Regions from separate parts of the Homo sapiens genome. Here region 1 is linked to region 2. The links are contacts of gene promoters, found by promoter capture Hi-C in human tissues and cell types (Jung and others, 2019). All regions are on one chromosome and are shown on one strand. Each heading gives the region's core, a stretch centred on a gene start or on the middle of the fragment in contact. The rest is flanking DNA. Distances are from core to core; before and after follow the strand shown. Region 1 overlaps GPD1L (glycerol-3-phosphate dehydrogenase 1 like). Region 2 holds the start of CNOT10 (CCR4-NOT transcription complex subunit 10).

The links. Contacts are between HindIII fragments. The study calls those that stand out against the background at their distance.
Region 1: a contact is called between a fragment that was not itself captured here and the fragment with the promoter of CNOT10 in region 2, in 1 of the 25 tissues and cell types used here (pancreas).

Annotation. Positions count from the first base shown.
Region 1 is chr3:32,161,197-32,166,281 of GRCh38, forward strand. It overlaps GPD1L (glycerol-3-phosphate dehydrogenase 1 like), which reads left to right. Exons shown (of 8, transcript NM_015141.4): 8 at 4,618-5,085. The coding sequence ends at 4,714. Among named protein-coding and RNA genes, the nearest start is that of GPD1L, 57 kb to the left of the region's middle. The HindIII fragment of the contact is 3,505 bases long and covers 1,847-5,085 here.
Region 2 is chr3:32,682,194-32,688,019 of GRCh38, forward strand. CNOT10 (CCR4-NOT transcription complex subunit 10) reads left to right here and starts at 2,995. Exons shown (of 19, transcript NM_015442.3): 1 at 2,995-3,289. The coding sequence starts at 3,268. RefSeq lists a silencer at 2,796-3,105. The HindIII fragment of the contact is 8,061 bases long and covers 1-5,820 here.

The DNA.
Region 1 (5,085 bases), core at 2,349-4,848, 520 kb before region 2:
TAATCAGCCATGGAGTTCTGTACTGAAAGTTAAAAATGAGGGTGGATGGAGCATTTGTCTTACCTTTTAAATTTGCACTTTATTTTTCTGAAATGGCTTTTAAAACCAGCCATGCAGAGATGGAAGTTCACAAACAGGCTGCCAAAGGAGGAGAACTACCTTTAAATTGTGGCTAAAAGGAAAATGCCTCTGACATGCATGGTTTTCCTTACCTACTTAGCAGCAGACAGTGATATGTTTGTGTGTGGTTGGACTACTTTAATGACCACTGAGCATTTATCAAGAAATTTTTTTAAGTCTCAAAAAAAAATAATACTTGGCTGTTTAGTGAGACTCTCCCAACCAGAATTTTCAAGTGGCATCTTGAAACACACCCCAAGTGTGCTACCATGGGGTGCCTTGATAGGATTCTCTGGATGGACAGGTTGGCTGGGCATTAGCCTGTTAGCTCCAGGGGGACATGGACTAGAATTGCGATTCTGGGGCCAGTAGCTCCCTGTTTTCAAAAGCAGGTGTAATCAAGCAGGTAAATCTCTGCTCTGAGCAGACATCTCTCCTTGGTCATGTCCCATTTTATTTCTTCTGATTAGAGATTGAACAGGCTCCACCTGTGCTTAATAACATCGCTGCTGGATTGGACGTGGCAGCACCCTTCTCCTGGGCTGGAGTGTAGAATCCCCTGGGACTCCTCCCCATTCCTTGTACCACCTGCCTCCCAAAGGCAGAGGCCTATTGTGCTCCCTTTGCACCACCTCTTACTTTGATTCCTTTTTCCTTTTTCATTCTGACCACCACTACTCCGGTCTTCCTCTGTTTCCTTCTCCCTCCCTTCTCTTCTCCATTGCTATAGAAAAAATAGCAGGAGGGCAGCATTCAAGGCTGCCCTGTGGCTTATTAGCCCTGTGGCCTTGGGCAAGTCACGTATTTAGCTGTTCTGTGCCCCGGTGTTCTTATCCACAAAATTAAGATGGAAGACCAGATGAACACCATGGTCCCTACCAGCTTGAGCATTCACATTCAGAGGCCTCCTGCTCTTATAGAGTGAAGCACATGGTCCTTAGGCAGATGTGGCCCCCCTCAATCTAGCACCAATGTAACTTCCTGCAGTACATCCTCTTACTCCCTATGGTACCGTCTTTTCTTGAATGGAACTTTTCTTTGCCTCTCATTTTACCTTAATTACCTTTTCTTTTTTTTTTTGAGACGGAGTCTCGCTCTGTCGCCCAGGCCGGACTGCGGACTGCAGTGGCGCAATCTCGGCTCACTGCAAGCTCCGCTTCCCGGGTTCAAGCCATTCTCCTGCCTCAGCCTCCCCAGTAGCTGGGACTACAGGCGCCCGCCACCGCGCCCGGCTAATTTTTTGTATTTTTAGTAGAGACGGGGTTTCACCTTGTTAGCCAGGATGGTCTCGATCTCCTGACCTCATGATCCACCCGCCTCGGCCTCCCAAAGTGCCCTTAATTACCTTTTCAAAGACCGTGTCACATTCTGAGATACTAGGGGTTAGGACCTAAGCATATTAATTGGGAGGAGGGCACAATTCAGCCCGTACACAACATGTTCTCTGAGGTGCATGTTGCAAGCTCCTGGGTCTCACTCTGTCACCCAGGCTGGAGTGCAATGGTGCAATCTCAGCACTGCAATCTCCGCCTCCCATGTTTAAGTAATTCTCTTGCCTCAGCCTCTCCAGTAGCTGGGATTACAGGCGTGTGCCCCTATACCCAGCTAATTTTTGCATTTTTAGTAGAGACTGGTTTTTACCACGTTGCCCAGGCTGGTCTCGAACTCCTGGCCTCAAGCAATCTGCCCACCTTGGCTTCCCAAAGTGCTGGATTACAGGCATGAGCCACCACGCCTGGCCTGGCTTTATTTATAATACTGCACATCCCTGCACTTAGTCTGAAGTCTGAAACATCTTAAGCCCTCAGTATTGATTAGTGGGATAGCTGGCTGACTGGTTTGTCCTTTTTTTTTTTTTTTTTTTTTTTTTGAGACAGAGTCTTGCTCTGTCGCCCAGGCTGGAGTGCAGTGGCACGATCTTGGCTCACTGCAACCTCCACCTCCCAGGTTCACACCATTCTTCTGCCTCAGCCTCCTGAGTAGCTGGGACTACAGGCGCCCGCCACCACGCCCAGCTAAGTTTTTGTATTTTTAGTAGAGACGGGGTTTCACTGTGTTAGCCAAGATGGTCTCGATCTCCTGACCTCGTGATCCACCTGCCTCAACCTCCCAAAGTGCTGAGATTACAGGCGTGAGCCAGCACACCCAGGCCTCTGGTTTGTCATTTTTTTAAATGAAATGTTGTCTTTTTCTTCCTTTCACCTCTAACTTTATTTAGAGAGTCTTCCAAACTGATCTAATTGTCCTTTTAGCATTTTATGTAATAGAAAATAATATTTAGATGGGCAGTGTAGCCTAATGGTTGATCATTGGCTTCAGAGTCCAAAACTGTGGTTCAATTTACTCATATATAGAATGGGGACAATATTTTCTACCTCATGGGGTGATTGTAAGGATTAAACAAGTTACTCGTCTGTAGAAATTTCTCTTCCACACACTTCATATCTCTTGTTAACATCCCTTCCACAGAATGCACTTTGGAAATGATAGTTTTAAAAGTTGGGAGTGCTTTCAGCTGCAAGACCAACACACAGTTATAACAGGGAATATGGAGGTGAACATTATTAAAGTGTTGGCCCAGTGGCTCTGGCTCTGGATTAGAATCTCAGTGATCCTGTTGGCTTTCCCTTGAACCTCAAGATGGCTGCAGCAGCTCCAGGCATCACATTCACTTTTACACTCAGGAAGGGAACAAGAGTAGTCTGGGGTAACAGATTTTTCCTCTAGTGCCTCTCGAGAAATCTTCCTCGAGAAACCTTCAGCAGATATATTATGTCTTGCTGCCTAGGACTGTGTTACTTGACCAATTCTAGGTGAAAGGCTAGGAAGGTGAGTAGTCTCTTCCAACCTTGGGGAAAGGGAGAAGCAGGTTGGAAATGGCTTTGGATGGCCAGTCATCTGCTACCACACTGCTTTGGGGACATATACATTGTTCTTGTTTTAGGAACAGGGAAACATAGCATGGAAGGACAAAGAAAGGGGCTGAAGTTTCTAGGCTTTAAATCCAATCCACAGGAATTTATTCAACGAATTCTCACGGAGCACCTGCCCCTTGCCGTGCATGGTGCCAGGCACTGAGGATACAGTAGTGAAAAAAACAGACTTGGTCCCAGTCCTCAGGGAGCTTTCTCGGTCCAGGACACACTATCCATCTTGTGGCTGCTATTATAAGCTGTTGTTACTGCACATCCACCATTTGCCAAGTGTGTACTGTGTGCTTCACACATAAGTCATTTAATACTTGCAGCAAGGCTGTGTATCCAGTCCCATTTTACAGATGGGCAAACAGGGTCAGAAGGATTGTGAAACTTGCCCAGAGTTAGTAGGCTGTAGAGTCAGAGTTGATTAGGTCTACCTGACTCCAAAAAAATAAAACATTCCACAAAAAAGTAGCAAAACATTCCGTACCTTAAAAAAACTACAATGAAGAAACAACCCTACAACGATAGACTCTCATAAAGACATGTGATCTATTAGTACTATTTGTTCTTCTTAAAAATTATCATTATAAGGTTCTGTCCAGCTAATTTTCAGGATTGCCTTTCAAGACTCTATTGATTCTGCCAAGCTCACTTTGAGCTATGTGTGTGTGTGTATTTAAAAGCCTGGGCCGGCGCGGTGGCTCACGCCTGTAATCCCAGCACTTTGGGAGGCCGAGGTGGGTGGATCATGAGGTTAGGAGTTTGAGACCAGCCTGACCAACATGGTAAAACCCCGTCTCTACTAAAAATACAAAAATTAGCCAGGCGTGGTGGCACACACCTGTAATCCCAACTACTCTCAGGAGACTGAGGCAGCAGAATCGCTTGAATCCAGGAGGCAGAGGTTGCAGTGAGACAAGATCATGCCACCGCACTCCAGCCTGGGCGATAGAGTGAGACTTTGTCGCAAAAGAAAAGAAAAAAGAAAAAAAGCCTGATGAAATTATTTCTTTAGTGATTTTTCACTTATATCTGTATTCACATCTTGGAAGAAAAGGTAAGATAAATCAAGCTTCTGACATAAGATGAGTGCTTTGCTAATCGTGGGTCCTCACTCGGATTCTTGCGGGAGCATTCCAGCCTACATTATTTGTTACCTTGGGATGATTCTTTTTGGAGAAGGGAGAGCAATGCCTCCTTGCAATTTAAAAATTTATTTTTACAACTTTTAAAATAATGACAGAATATAGACTCCTCCAAGATTTGACCAAGAGTTGGAGCCACAGCTCCTATGTAAATGACAACAGTTTGCCCTGGTAGGATCACCGTGTGACTTGGTTGTGGACAGTGTGCTCCAAGCTTAATTAGGCAGAGGATGGTCTAGGTTGCCCCAGGATCTGACAGCCACATTCCAGAGGCTCTCTGCAGACCAAATAATAAAGGAATGTAGAAAGTGCTCACTGTGTTTTCCATAGTCACATACTAACCTGCAATCTGTTAGGACAGAAAACCTAACTTATTCTCTGAGGTAAATCCAGTGGCCTAACTTTGTCTTTTCACATTTCCTCCCAACTAGGTTTCCATTGTTTACTGCAGTGTATCAGATCTGCTACGAAAGCAGACCAGTTCAAGAGATGTTGTCTTGTCTTCAGAGCCATCCAGAGCATACATAAAGTGAATCATGCAACGTGTTGGGGGAAGTTCTGCCTTTCTGATCAATCTTTTGGGTTCACGTGGAAACCAGGACTTGGCAACATGATGTTTGACTGTAATCTCATCACGGATATGTATGAATTTTTACAGGTTCGTTTTTGAATTGTGAGAGGCAGTTCATTAGCAAAGATGTACTGGGCAGTAACTAAACACACATGCAAACATGTGAATGGTGGTTTATTCCTCATTCTGTGGATGTTTCTATGAGCCAAAATTTGATGTCTTTTTTTCAAAATTGCTTATGAAATTTCCACACAATCGTAGCTTATAAGATTGGAACGATCTCAGCCAAATATTTTAGGTGTAATTCATATGTATTTGAGTGGAGGAT
Region 2 (5,826 bases), core at 1,745-4,244:
TAGCAAATCCTAGAATCTAGAATGTAGTGGTTAAGATAATAGCCATTTACCAGTCTTGTGGCTTGGGAAAGTGGATTAACATCTGTGCCTCAGTTTCCCTATCTATGAAATGGGGGACAAGAACCAACATAGATGTGACCACATGTGAGAAAGTGAAAAGGGGACTAAGAAAATTAAAAAAAAAAAAACAGTTCTGTTAGTAGAATGTTCCCAACTGGACATAAACAGCACTCACAGAATATGAACAATGTTCATAGACAGTTTCACCATGATCGTGTTTTGGACAAGACAGAAACAAGGCCCTCAACAACCACACAAATGGGAAAACACCCCCTTCTTCTAATGTAAATGATCCCGCTTTTTTTTTAACCAATGACAGCTCTAGCTTGCTTTGTTCCTCCTTCTGTTTAGATAAAACCAAGACTGAATTGCTTGTTTCCTGACAGCATCCAATTCAAATTTGGCCTCCTACTTTCCCAATCCCTCTAGAATAAGCCCAAATTCTATAAGAGATTCCTCCTAATTCCTTTTCATTAAGAGGCTCCCTACTACACTTCAGGTGTGCCTTTTTATTATTTTTTATTCTTTATTTTATTTATTTATTTATTTATTTTTGAGATAGACTTTTGCTCTTGTTGGCCAGGCTGCAGTGCAATGGCACGACCTCGGCTCACTGCAACCTCTGCCTCCCGGGTTCAAACAATTCTCCTGCCTCAGCCTGCCAAGTAGCTGGGATTACAGGCACCCGCCACAACGCCCGGCTAATTTTTGTATTTTTTTTTAGTAGAGACGGGGTTTCACCATGTTGGCCAGGCTGATCTCAAACTCCTGATCTCAGGTAATCTGCCTGCCTCGGCCTCCCAAAGTGCTGGGATTACAGGCATTAGCCACCGTGCCCGGCCAGGTATGCCTTTGCCCAGCCAGGTATGCCTTTTTATGGTGGGCACATATTCATCAAAAGTCATACTAGAGTAATCATATTGGCCCTATTCAAAATAGATAAAATATCCAAATGCCCAACAATAAAATGAATACATAAATTAAGGAATATTCACATAATGTAACATTATAATATATAACAATGAGAAACAAATACAACTTCATTCAACAATGTCAATGAATCTCATACTATCGAGCAAAAGAAGCTAGACCCTAAAAAATATATTGTATAATGTATATACATTAAGTTTAAAAGCAGGTGAAGCTAATCCATAGTGTTAAATGTCAGCATAATGATTATCTTTGTGGAGAGATGGGAAGAGGCATGAGGGGAACTCCCAGATATGGGTAAAGCTCTGCCCTTTCTCTGGGTGCTAGTTATATGTATGTGTTGAGTTGATGAAAAGTCAATACACTGTACTTATGATTCATGCACTTTTCTTTGTGTATGTTAGCCTGAATTAAAAAGTTTAAGAAAAAACAAATACTTTTTTTTTTTTTTGAGACAGAGTCTCACTCTGTTGCCCAGGCTGGAGTGCAGTGGGGCAATCTTGGCTCACTGCAATCTCCGCCTCCCGGATTCAAGGGATTCTCCTGCCTGAGCCTCCCAAGTAGCTGGGATTACAGGTGCACACCACCACGCCCAGCTAATTTTTGTATTTTTAGTAGAGACGGGGTTTCACCATGTTGGCCAGGCTGGTCACAAACTCCTGACCTCAAGTGATCCACTTGCCTTGGCCTCCCAAAGTGCTGGGATTGCAGGTGTGAGCCACCACGCCCGGCCAAAAACAAATACTTTTTTAAAAGAAAGTTTAAAACAAAAGTTAAAAAAAAAGAAAAAAACAGGTACAAACCTGAAAAATCTCCCAATTAACAAAGCTGGGACAATTTTAGCAACAAAATAATGTAGTATTGGAATGTAACCATTATAAGATAAACATCCATGAGTCCATACTGATATAAATAGCTAAGTGAGGGAGAAGAGGCAAACTTCCCTTGGGGAAGATAATTTATGTACATACTCCCCACTGCAGGAGGTAGAGCTTAAATACCCCGCCTTCCCACCTTGAGTGTGGGTTGCATTTATTGACTTGGTTCCAAAGTAGTGTGGAAGGGTAGGAGGAGTAATTGCACAGTAGAGAAAACTGGCAAGCACTACCTTAGAGAGGTAATCAAGGTTAACATGATCAGTGATGTCATTTTGACAGCATGTACCCTTGATTCTATGTGATGAGAACAGCCAGTCACCTTGTGGTCTTCCTCCTAAACACCCAAAACCCCAGTCTAACCATGAGAAAAATATTGGCCAAACCCAAATTGAGGCACATTCCACCAAATATCTGAGGAGTAACTCTTCAAAACTGTCAAGGTCATCAAAAACAAGAAGAATCTGAGAAACTGCCACAGCCAAAAATAGCCTAAGACGACATAATGAATAAATGCAATATGGTGTCCTGGACAGGATCCTGGAACAACAACAAAAAAAGGACATTGAAAGAAAGCTGGTAAATGTGAATAAAATGTGTAGTTTAGTGAGTAATAGTGCGCCAATCAAACTGGTTTCTTAGATGTGATCAACGTAACATAGTAAAATAATTAAGATGTTCACAATAGGAGAAACTAGGTGAGGAGACAGGAACTCTAGGTGTCATCTTTGCAACTTTTCTGCACAACTACAACTATTCTAAAATAAAAGGCGTTTCTTTTTAAACGGGAATCCTCAACAGCGCCTCTCTCATGGGGTTGCAAGAAATCAATGAGATAGTACAGACCAAGTGCAGGGCTCAGTGCTTAGCACATAAATGTCAGATGTGGTTATTGTAATATTATGTAACATTGAGGGACAAAAGCTCTGACACCTCGGTGTTTTAATTAGAGTAAGCAAAGGACAGACGCGCGTACGTCCCACCGCGTCAGCCCTGTGAACATCCAGAGGTTCCAGCCAGAGTACGTCCGGCCGGAGGCGGGGCGCGGAGGGGACGTCGGCGTGGGGCGGGGCCAGTAGCAGTTCCCACGCCGGCGCTCCAGGCGCGGCAGGCTGCCGCCCCCGGAAGTAGTGGGTACCGGGACGCCGTGAGGCGGAAGCTGTGTATGGCGGGAGGCTGTGGCGGTCCCTTGGTGGGGAAGCTGTTGCTGTTGCTAGACGACGGGAACTAGCTCTCGTCACTTCCTCAGCCCGCCGTCTGCCCACTCCTCTAGCCGGAACCTGGGGGCCCGGAGCCGGGGTAGGCACAGAGTTGTCCTCGGAGGTCCAGGACAGCGGCCAGCCCGGCGGCGGGAGTCAGGGCCACGCCACCTGCAGGGAAGAACCCGAGTCGAAGCGGGAAGATGGCTGCAGACAAGCCTGCAGGTAGGGCGCCAATGTCCCGAGCGACGAGACGGCGGGACGTGCGGGGCCGGGCGGACCCTGAACTCGGAGGCGGCGGGGCCCGGGGTGGGGACTCCAGGGCGACTTGAATTTGGGCGTGCATTTCTTTACCCCATCCTCTGTCTCGGCTGTCGCTAACATGAGTCTTCGGGCCCCGGGTCCAATAGTTGTTTTACTCAAGTGCAGTATTTGAAGTCGCCACTGGCCGCCTTTGCCCTGCTCTTCAGAATAACTCCGGCCCAAAAAGCTTAAATGTATTTTGCCGCTTCGCAGAATTTTCCGCTTCTTCGTGGGAAAAGCAGACAAGAGAAAGTCACCCTGGAGCACACATCTGCCTATAATATCGCGTGGCTGAGGCTGGGATTCACCTGGGCTGTTTTGACCACATGTGGCTTCCTCTGGTCATTGACTCCTGTGAAATTAACTTTGTAAAAACCACTTTTTTTTTTCTTGATAGAGACGGGCGGGGGTCTCGCTATGGTGCCCAGGCTGATCTCGAACTTCTGGGCCCAAGCGATCCTTCCGCCTTGGCCTCTCAAAGTAAACCACTTATTTAAAAAGGCATAAAATCCTATTGTCTCTCTACAGTCTGTGCTCCTAAAATCTTGCATTTGGTACTTAATTGCTCTAGTTCCTCGAAATTACTTAATCTCAATGGTTTTCTTTATGGATTATTGCTCCCATTCCTAGAATCTTCCACATTAAGGAATATAAAATTATTTCCTGACCTTGTCCGGAATGTTTCCCGCAAGAAATTCATATTCTTTGTGGCATCCAGGTTTTATTGGAAAGAACTTAAGTGACAGGATTTAAAAGTGATGGAACTTAAAATTTTTACAGTGAATTTAATTTAAAATTAAAGAAAAACTCAGTGTGCTGTGGATTTTAGTAGGTTCTGGTCACAATAACTGACAAATGAACTTCACTTGGAAATTAAGCCAATTCTATTTTAGGTACAGAGGAATAAAAATCATTAGAGGATCTCTTCAATAATCTAAGAAGAAAAACAACAGAACAAAGGCCTTGAGAGGGTATAAGGAATGTGCTGTGAAATTTTGGATAGGTTGTTCAGGGAAGGCCTCTGGTGAGATGATATTTGAGCAGAGATATGTAAGAAGTGAGGGAATGAGCCATAAGAAATGAGGAAAGGTGGATGAGGGAGAGACTATTAGACAGGAAAACGGCATGGCCTGTCCAAGGCTGGACCAGGGGACCAACATCTTCCTCCTTATTTTAGAATAGTGTCTGTGTTCCCCACATTTACCATTCCTACTTGCTCATACCATTGCGCTTGCCCGAAATCACCCTTTTAGACCTAAAGCCCATCCAGTTTTCAAATCCTCAGTCATAAAGCCTTCTACTTGTTCATTTATTCATTCGCAAAGATTGAGTGTTGAATAATGGATATGACACACTCCCTGCCTTTGAAGACCTGCTGTTCAGTCTGTTGGAGGAGACAGGCATATCCTAGCTGCACTCCTGTTTGGTAAGAGCTGTGTAATGTGTGTAGTTGAAGAATAAGGTCCACAGTGATTAGGGGACTGTTTTTTTCATTGGTTTAAGTTTATAGGCCATATTGAAGGAAACTTCCTGCTTTGATATAAGGTTAAATTTGAATAAAATAGATGAGTGTTTAGTGTAGCTCCTTTGAATCTCTGCTCATCTCCATCTCATCTGCTGTGTTTCTGGCCTTTATCTTTTAATATGATCTATGTCGCATTGAGTAGTCTTCTCACTGGTGTTTGTCTCTTGTCTCTTCCTATCCCATCCATTTTCCTCACTGTCGCCCCCCGCTTTTTTTATGTCCTAAGACATTCATTGAATCCTGTCATTCCCCTTCCTATAAAGTTTCTAAGACTGTACATGCTTTGGGCATCAAGTCATCATTCTTTTTATTTAATTTTTATTGTATTTTCTTTCTCCTTTTAAGTCCTCACGGTTTTTTTTTTTTGTTTTTTTTTTTTTTTTTGAGACGGAGTCTCGCTCTGTCACCCAGGCTGGAGTGCAGTGGTGCGATATCGGCTCATTGCAAGCTCCGCCTCCCGGGTTCACGCCATTCTCCTGCCTCAGCCACCCGAGTAGCTGGGACTACAGGCGCCCGCCACCACGCCCTGCTAATTTTTTTGTATTTTTTAGTAGAGACAGGGTTTCACCATGTTAGCCAGGATGGTCTCCATTTCCTGACCTTGTGATCCGCCTGCCTCGCCCTCCCAAAGTGCTGGGATTACAGGCGTGAGCCACCGCGCCCTGCCGTCCTCACTCTAATGTGGTTTGTGAGCATCTTCAAAATCTATTTCCAGCTGGATTTCTGTATCAACCCACCCAGCTCTTCACATCATAAATTACTGTTGCAAAGCATTGTGTTTTTTGAGCTTTTGAGCCGTAGTGTCCTTTCTCTTCTCCGTCTGGTGAACACTATTCATTCAGTCTATCTTACATGCTGCTTCCTCTCTGAGCTCACGAGGTCAGGATATTTGTCACGGAGGGTCTTGTGTGTGTGTTCTTCATCAGGTAAGAAA